2 separate regions of the Homo sapiens genome follow, and region 1 is linked to region 2. Evidence: promoter capture Hi-C in human tissues and cell types (Jung and others, 2019). All regions are on one chromosome and are shown on one strand. Each heading gives the region's core, a stretch centred on a gene start or on the middle of the fragment in contact. The rest is flanking DNA. Distances are from core to core; before and after follow the strand shown. Region 1 overlaps TMEM132C (transmembrane protein 132C). Region 2 holds the start of TMEM132C (transmembrane protein 132C).

Region 1 (4,642 bases), core at 289-2,788, 100 kb after region 2:
TGGGGCCAGAATGAAAAGATGGAACCAGACTTGGGAAGAGCATTCTAGAATGTGAAACTAGAACATGCAAAGGCCCTGAGGTAGGTGAAAATGAAGCCCTGGACCAGAAGGAAAGGCAGCCATTGTGACAGGGGCTTAGGGAAGGAAAGGAAGTTGTTCAAGGCAGGAGCTTGGAGGGGAAGGCCAGGTCTGGATCACTAGGGGTTTTGATAAGAGGTTGATCAGTTTCCAGAACACGTCCAGAGATGTGTCTGTTCTTGAAGCACAGTCCTGAAGTCACATTTCTTCCAGATGCTAAATACTTGAGCTCTGTGTTCTGTGCTCATTATGCAAAATGGTCACCTTCAGGAGAGAAAAATAGCTTTTCTGGTGAGGTGTTTTTGGCAGCTTCACCTAGGTGACAATGCTACTCTCCACCCCAGAGGGTTGGAAAACAATAGTGAGGTGTGCATAGTCAACAGTCCCATCTGATGGGCTCCAGTTTGGGTTAATGATTCCCTGGCACAGTCCAAGGGCTCTGGCACTGCCCCTAGCAAGCGCACAGAGACCAGGAGTCCACTGGAGTGGCCATTTCCCAGTGATTCTAGACCTTCCCTGTCCAGTGCAGTAGCCAAGTGTACTTGTGAACCCTTGAAATGAGGCTAGTCCAAACTGCGATGAGCTGTAAGTATGAAATACCAGATTTTGAAAGCATAGTATGAAAAAAAGTAAAAAAAAAAAATCACATGAATAATTTACATAGTGATTACATGTTCAAATGATAATATTTTTGTTTTATTTGGTTTAATAAAATGTTATTAAAATTAATTTCTTCTGCTTCTGTTTTCCTCTGTAATGTGGTTACTAGGAAATATACTATTATATTTAGCCCATATTTGAGGCTTGCATTCTATTTCTATTAGACAGTGGCGGCTGGTCTAGACCGTGCTAACTGCTGTCAGCCGGACTTTGGAGATGAAAGAGGTCAGATAATAAAGGACATTATCAGAGCTCTGGCTTTATACATGGCAACTTTGCGTGAATTAGAAAAAGCTGATGCTTCTGCGCAGACCAAGAAGGAGACAATACCCCATCTTCCAGGAAGATCTAGCCACCAGCCAGGGTGCCCCACTTGGCAAATGGACATGGGGCATAGTTCATCCCCACTAGCTAGGAGCTTTTATGAAGGCCACAGTCTGCATAGCAGCTTGCAGCTCAGGACTAATTTGTCCCCGCTGCTCTGCTTTACAGCCGGAAGCAACGTCCATTTGGTTTGAGTGTCAGGGAAGCCAGATTTGAAGCAAGGTAGCGCAGTGGTTATGACTGCCACCTCTGGGACCAAACAAACATGCTTGAATCCAGTCTAGCTCCGAAAAGGTCCAGTCAATCTTGGGCACTTTACCTACTTAAACTTTCTGGGTCTTCGTTTCTCCCTTCCTAAAGTAGCGAAGATGATAAGAAGGTCCTCCTGGGCTTAGTGAAAGGGTTAATTAATCGCTCCGGTTCCTGACACATAGTCATCACTCTGGAAATGTTTGCTGTTATTACAATGATGACCATCCTTGATTTAGCAAAGGAGGGTGGGCATGAAGGTGTAAGGTATGCCCAGATGCCCTTGAAGAAGAAATTTCACTTCTGGCCTTGGAGGAACATCCATTGGTTGGAAAGCATCTTGTCTCTCCACAAGGTATGAAATACAGAGCATGTTTTCTGCTCACTGTTTTTAGGTAACTGTTTTATGTTTTTTATCTCACATCCAAGACAAGCACTGCCAGCCCATTCCACAAAGCGGGAGACTGAGAGTCAGGGAGTCCTTTCTCAAGGTTGGTGCAGCAGCTTAGAGGAAGGCACACCAAAGGCACGAAGAGAGGCTTTGGGGAACTGAACTCGCCCCTGAGACTCTAGAGAATTCCCTGAGATCACTAGGGATGACTTAGAAAAATACTCCAGGGATGTGCTTTGCAAGCTCCTGTTCCCTCCAGGTTCTATGGGGGCATTTCAGTGTCCTGAGAAGGTGTGAGTGGATGGTGGTTATTTGCTGATTTTACTTATTGGAATACTGGTAAGTCTAGTAAGGCATTTACTTTTTATGACAGTGACAAATATGATAATGAGATGAGGATGGTGATAATGAAGTTGCTGGTAACTCTTGTTTATTAAGCCTTCTTAAATTCCAGACACTGTCTTAAGCACTTTACACAGATTATCTCATTCACTTTACACAGATTATCTCATTGATACTTAAAATGATGAGTTTAATACTATTGGACTGAGCATTAAACTCAATACAATGTTTTTTTAGAAACTCATTTTATTATTAAAAACTCATTTTATTAGTAAACATTAATACAATGTTCACTATGAAAACATCGATACAATGTTTACTATGAAAACATTGATGCCAAATCAGAGGAAGTTCTGTGATCATTCCCATTTTACAGCTGAGAAAACTGAGGCTTTACAGGTTGCATATCTTGTTTTGGTGATGCAGATGATTCATGCTTCAGCATTCATGCTTAACTAGGGCTGTTTAACTGGGTACAGCAGGAGGTAACACAGGCATTTGGCAGAGAGTAAAGACCCAGGCATTGTAACCCATCATTACTTCCAATTCATTTGAATAAAAGACTCCACAGTTATCACTCAAAATGATTGCCTGGGTCATGGTTTTTCTTCTCAAGTTTCAGCCTTGGGATGGACATGTGTCCTGTTCAGTGGTTGTTCTCACCCAAAACCTAAGGCTGCCACTGACAACGCCTTGAAGCTGTGGCTTGTTTCATCGAGGCGTGCTGCCATGGAAGCTTCAGTCCTGTTGTGCACACGTTTTGGTTCCTCATTTGTTCCTATTTTGGAGACCCTCATATATGAGCCTAAATTAGTATATGCATCATGATATATCTGCCACAGCGTTTCCCTGGCTAGAAATCCATCCCAAACATTAGTATGGGTTTAAAAGCAAGAGTTGGGCTCTAGGCCCTTGTTTATTGCTGATGGATCTTGCATTTCTTGAAAGTCTTCCCTTTTTGCACTAAATTTTTCTGCCTTTCCATATCTGCCAGAGTCCTCTGCACCTGCTTATCGTACACCATTTCATGGAACAAATCCACTGTTGACTTCCTGGGGGCCTGAGCTTAGATGGGCAGATGCCCTGGCCAGCAAGCCCCCTGCCAGTCTTAGGGCTCAGGTGTGCAGGGAGATCCACACCTTCCTGCAGTAAGAATCTGGTACATGCACGGGGCTGCCTGGTTTCCTCTGAGCAACAGTCATAGGTGTGTTAGACTATTGCAGGTGACCTAAAGATGCCTTAACATAGCATAAGCATAACCAGAAAATGTTCCTGTATGGGACAACATCCTAGCAAGAAACAGAATTTACCCAGGGTGGTCAATTGAAGGATCTATTGACTGAGTCATTGGCAGGGTTAAAGGAACAAACAAGACGTTTCAAGGTACCCAGGGACCAGCAGCAAAGCAAAGGTGAAGAGGCAAGGAGAGTAGTGTTTCTAGAGCCCAGTGAGAGTGGGGCCTCAGGAAAGGGGTCAAGCAGGACGGAGGTAGAGATGCAGAGGGAAGTGGCCACCACCAGAGGCACAGCACCAAGAAAAGGGGGAACTTGGAAAGGCACCCTGACCTCTCTCCTCCAACCTTCTGATCTCCTAACTTGACTCTAAGCCAGTGTGAGAGGGAGTGCAGATGGTGCATCTGTAAGAGTCATCTTCCCAAGGCTCAGAGAAAGGCAGTGTGGATCGAGGTGGAGTGGGGAGGCTCAGTGAAGAATTTCCAGCACAGCTCCTAAAACTGGCAAACAGTTTCCCATTTATTCATAGAATTCAACTTATCCTGCACGGCACCAGAATAATAGCAGCTACCCCTGAGGAGCTCACTATGCCCCAGACATTGTTCTAAGGACTCATATACTAACTCATTTAATTCTCAGAACCACCCTTTGAGGTAAGTCTTATTACTGCCCTTGTGCCGATAGAAGTGGTGAAGCAGGGCTTTCAATCCAGGTGCCTGGCTCTAGAATCATCGCAGGTCTAACCAGCATGCACAGGAGCCTCGTCTAACATGGATGGGATGTTAGCCGCATCTAACATCCTAACATAGTAGGATGGGATTTAAAGGGAAGGGGTTTCTGGGGGCCAAGGATTGTGTTCTCATGTGAACAGAAGGTGCATTGGTGTGTGGATAGTGTTGCCTGACCTACTTAAAATCTATTTTCCCTTTTTCTCATAGCAGCACATGGATTTTTCTGGGGGAATTATTTCTTTTTAATTCTCTGTCAATGTAAGTCAAGTGCAACTGACTTCCATCTTGGCTCCAGGAAGGCATATGACCCACGCCTGTCCAATCAAAGCATCCATCTTCCTCACCAAAGTGATTGGTTCCAAGATGGGCATGTAACATAAATCAGACCAATCAGAGCCAACAGACTCATCTTGGGGCTTCTGTTGGCTCTGTTGAGGGAGAAGCATACTCTTTGCATTGGAAATGTTGAGGCTTCCAACTGCTGGAAGTCATCTTTTTGTTGTTGTTGTTATTTATGTATGTATATGTGTATGTATGTATTTATTCATTTTTGAGACTAGGCCTTACTGTTGCCTAGGCTGGAATGCAGTGGCACAATCGCAGCTCACTGCAGACTCAACCTCCTGGGCCCAAGC
Region 2 (4,384 bases), core at 70-2,569:
TGGCTCATTCCTTAGGGGCTGAGTTGGGAGATAAGACTTGGGGTTGCAGTTGCTGGGGATCATTCGTTTACATTTCTTTTCTTTCAATCAAGGACTTCTTTTTTTCTTTTGAAATTCTTTCCTGCACTGATGGTGAGAAAAGACCCCTCAGGCTTCCTTTTGATGTTGGACCGAGCCAGCCCACGGTGAGAGGGGATGCTGAGCCCGTGGTGAGGAGCTCAGGACAGGAGGGGACGTCCAGAGACCTCCGAACCCATGGCCCTTCATTCCCAGTCACAAGGGGGGAGTCGGGGTCCCGCCCTCAAACTGCTCAGACCACGCGTGGCAGAAAGAGCAGAGCATGAGCATCAGGAACCGCACAGGGAAGCCGCTGAGATCACCTGGGATCACCACCATGAGGGAGGCCAGCCCTGGAGAAATCAGAGGGAAAAGATAGAGAGAACGAAGTCGGGGGGGGGGGGGGGAGGGCGGATCTTCCTTGTCTGAGTCTGCAGAGAAATTGCCTATTGCAGGAGCAAGTCTAGAGAGGGGCTATTCTCCACCCACTGAAAAGATAATAAAACACATGCTATGGGCGGCGGGGAGATGATTGGGGAGTGGAAGCCCCACAGACATGCAGTGAAAAATGATCCTTTCTTCCCCTCTGCGTTCTCGTCCCCTTCCCAGAGACACCGCTGTGATCTCGTGCCTCGCCCCCTCCGCACACGCACAGGTGCACACCCGCATCTGTCTTGAGCCCGCACCCCGCCTTCACGCTCCGCTGCGCGCTGCTTTTCCGCGCTCAGTGATCCAGTTAGGAGCTCTCCCCGCAGCAGCTGCGCGGGACTTTGCATTCCAGATGTCCCCAGCCCTCCAGGCTAAAGCAGCGGCCACCTGAAGTTGAGGAATGGGGCGTGACGACCACCAGGTCCCGCAGTGACCACGGGAGGGTGGGGAGAAGGAGTCCAGCTCCGCCTTGAGCGTCGGGTCCCTGGGCAGGACCCTCCGGGCCACGGGCCGCTGTCCGTTGGGCACCCGGGCAGGAGTCTGCGAACGCTGAGTTTCTCTGGAAAGGCGCGGACCCCCGGAGGAGCCGTCCCAGCCGCCTGGGGAGACGCCCCCTCCTCTCCCGGTCTTCTTTCCCGGGCACACCCTCCCTAGCCCGGGCGGGGGGGTTCTCCATCTGCCGCCCCTCCCGGCGGGCAGGCGAACTCTCTCCTACCGCACCCTCAATCTGTCCGCGGTCGCGGGGCTCGGCGGGGGCGGGGCCCGGGCGGGGGCGGGGGCGGGGCCGGGGGCGGGGCGGGCCGGCGGCTGCGGAGGCTGCGGAGGCTGCGGGAGAAAAGTTGTCCCGGCCGGAGCGCGAGCAGCGGCGGAGCCGGAGCCGCCAGAGCCAGAGCCGGAGCTGCGGCGGCGTGGACCCGGCAGGGGCGGGCCTCGGACAGCAGAGACGCAGCGGGCCCGGCCGACCGGGCTGCGGGAGTGGCCCCGGGCATGGGGCGGCCGGCGGGGGCCGCGGGCGGGCGCTGCGCTTCGGGCTGGCGGCGGGCTGCGTGAGCGGCCGGGACGCAGGATGCGCTCCGAGGGTGCGGCCCCCGGGCCGGCGGCGCCGCTGTGCGGGGCGCTGAGCCTGCTGCTGGGCGCGCTGCTGGGCAAAGGTAAGGCCGGGGCGGGTGCCTGGCGCGCCGACGCATGCGAACTTCCCGGTTCCGGGGGAGCTCGGGGTGAGGGCAGCCGAAGCGAGGGGTGCGGCGGGGGCCTCGGCGGGGGCTCGGATCCCATCAACAGCGCCTCTGCGGGTGCCGAGCCGCCCCTAATCCAGAAGGGCGCTCCCAGCTGGGCGCCGGGATCCGGGCAAGTTAGGCTGGTCCCGAGTCCCGAATCTCCCACCCCGGACCCCCCAGACCCAGAGCTGCCCCGCGGATGAGGAGGGGGCGTGGCTGAGGGACACGGTGTTTGTTCCCCATCCCTGAGTTCCGTGCGGACCTGCCCCAGCCCCAGCACAGTCACCCTGTGGAACTGGCATCCAGGAGAGGTGCTCCGCTCTGTGCGCTCCTTCCTCCCGGCTGTGTGCTCCCTGTCCACAGCTCCCCATCCACAGCTTCGGCACTGTGGGGCTGGTGCTCCAGGAGGGAAGGCCCGGTTCTTTGCATCCCCTTTCCGCAACCGCTAGGGTCTCTGTGCGGGCCCTAGAGGAACGCTCACTCATCGCGCAGCTCACCAGGGACCCCAGCTTGGCAGAAACCAGGGGCTCTCTGCGGGTTCTCTCAAATGAGTCCTTTGCGGTGGGGGAGCGCGGATGGGGAGGTGGGTGCGTCCCTCGCGACGGGAACTACCTCACCAGCGGTCCTGTCCGGGGCTCCTTCACCTCAGTGTCCTCTTCTCTACAATGGGAGTGACGGCCCTGCTTTGGGTTGGAGGAATTTAAAGGAGTTAACGTATGGCGCCCGCAGGGCTCACGAAAGGTAGCCGTGTGGTTTTTCCGACCTTTTTTATTATGTGCGTGTGCGGCCGAGTGGCCGCGCGGATGCGGCGGCGGGAAGGGCGGGGAGAGGCGGTCTCCAGCCCCAGGAGCCGCGGGGCAGGCGGGGAGCAAGGCCTAGGCTCTGCCAGGGCAGCAGCTGCCCGAGTCCCGGGGCGCGCCCAGGGCGTAGAAAAAGGAGAGCGTCGCTTTCCTGCTCCCCGCGCCCTGGCGAAGGTCTCGGGTTCATTTGGTTAAACGGAGGTGCGCACATGGGTGCCCTGAGCCTTCGCGCGGCGCCGCGGGTCCAGTATCGGCCCCAGGCTCTGAGCAGAGAACACTCAAAGCCACCCTTCTCCCGCCTAATGCTCTGAGGCTGAGCTAGAAATGCGTTCAGAGAGACAAGTTGTCAATGGAGGTTTAAAAGTAGCGTTTGCTTTTCAAAAGTCATTCTGCACCGCCTGAAAATCCAGAAAAATCTACTTTCCTTGAGGCTGCGCTTTCCCAGATACACCAACCAGACAAGTTTGCTATGTTTTATATAAGTGTTCCTTTCTTCCAAGAGCTCCAGGTAGGGAGGAGGGTGGGGTGAGAGAGGGGGGGGAAGAAGGAGTGAGAGAAGAGGGAAAGAGAGGGTGGGGCGAGAGAGGGGGGAAAGGGGGTGAGAGACGAGGGAAAGGGGGGGCAAGTCGGGGGTGGAGGAGTAGGAGAGGGGGGCACTTTTCTATTTTATTTGAAAGAGTCAACAGTCACGATCTGGTGCCTGAATTCTGCTGTTAATTAGCTCTAGGTTCCAGCGTTTCTAGGATTCAGTTTTCCTAGATGCAAAGTGGCCATTGAAGAATTCCCTTCCCAACCTACCTCCCAGCAGTTTTTTGTTGATAAAATGACTGAATGGGTAGTAAAGCACTTTGCAGAGGAAGGCGGTGCTAATTGAGCAGGGCGTGACCGACCTCCTCCGGGTTTTCACCCCTTGCCCTTGAGAGAATTTAACCAGGCGAACTGGATGTTCCCTTTAAAGCAAGTGTGGACTGTTCTTCATTAAGGCTCACATTCCGTGTGTGTGTGTGTGTGTGTGTGTGTGTGTATCCAGAGGATTTTACTTTTGATTACGAGAGTGGCTGTTACAGATGTCCATGTGTTCAGTGCTGGGGGCAGTGATTTGGCTGGAAAGGCAACTGGGACTGGATTTGAAGCTGATATTTGCACAACAAGGGAAAGTGCTGAAAACTAGGGACGTAGCGAAGCCCCACCCCTATCCCAAACCGCCTCTGCCCTCTAGCTAAGTGCAACCTTGATTTGATGGGGCTTTCTTTCCCTGCTTTTTGCTTTACAAAGTTCACCACGTGATTTGGGGGTGCATAAGGGCCTGCAACTTATCATCTGCAAAATACATTTTCCGTTTGTTTCTCATGATCAAAAGCAGCAGTTCATTCCCCCCTCGGATTCCTCCACACGTAAAGCGTTTGCACCGTAAGATATCTTCTAGAGAGGAAAGTTTGCTGACCTTGTTTACATTTCTGCTGTCTTTAAAAAAAAAAAGCCATCTCTGTCTCTTCCTGCACACGGATTTAAGTGCTGATTTCTGGAATCCTTGAAACCACTGATTAATTTTTAATACCAATTGTCTGTTTATTTTTGACTGTGGATTTAGAGGCTTTGCAATTTGTCAGGGTTCGGAAAAGGCAGAATTGTTCTTGGGAGGTTCCATAAATAGGACAGGGCATTGAAAGAAAGAAATCTTTTCCTAAGATTTAAGACTTGGGCCGAGGCAGGAGAGGCAAAACATCCTTGAATTAGAGGTTGATGTATTGCGCCTGTATAAAGCAAGTGGAAGGGCGGTGCCAGGCTGAGATGCCCTCGGAAGTTTAGTGATGGTTGTTAGTCACATATGAGACCTTCTGGGAAGGTTATGTGGGACCACATTCTCTTTTCTGAAATCTG

What was found. The method cuts DNA at HindIII sites, captures the fragments that hold promoters and counts their contacts. A contact is called where the count stands out against the background at its distance.
Region 1: a contact is called between a fragment that was not itself captured here and the fragment with the promoter of TMEM132C in region 2, in 2 of the 25 tissues and cell types used here (dorsolateral prefrontal cortex and mesendoderm cells).

Annotation. Positions count from the first base shown.
Region 1 is chr12:128,367,034-128,371,675 of GRCh38, forward strand. The region is part of intron 1 of TMEM132C (transmembrane protein 132C); the gene reads left to right. Among named protein-coding and RNA genes, the nearest start is that of MIR3612, 75 kb to the left of the region's middle. The HindIII fragment of the contact is 5,400 bases long and covers 1-4,238 here.
Region 2 is chr12:128,265,851-128,270,234 of GRCh38, forward strand. TMEM132C (transmembrane protein 132C) reads left to right here and starts at 1,320. Exons shown (of 9, transcript NM_001136103.3): 1 at 1,320-1,637. The coding sequence starts at 1,553. LOC107987176 (a long non-coding RNA gene) reads right to left here and starts at 1,182. Exons shown (of 2, transcript XR_001749176.1): 1 at 721-1,182. RefSeq lists enhancers at 466-987, 1,523-2,361. The HindIII fragment of the contact is 10,344 bases long and covers 1-4,384 here.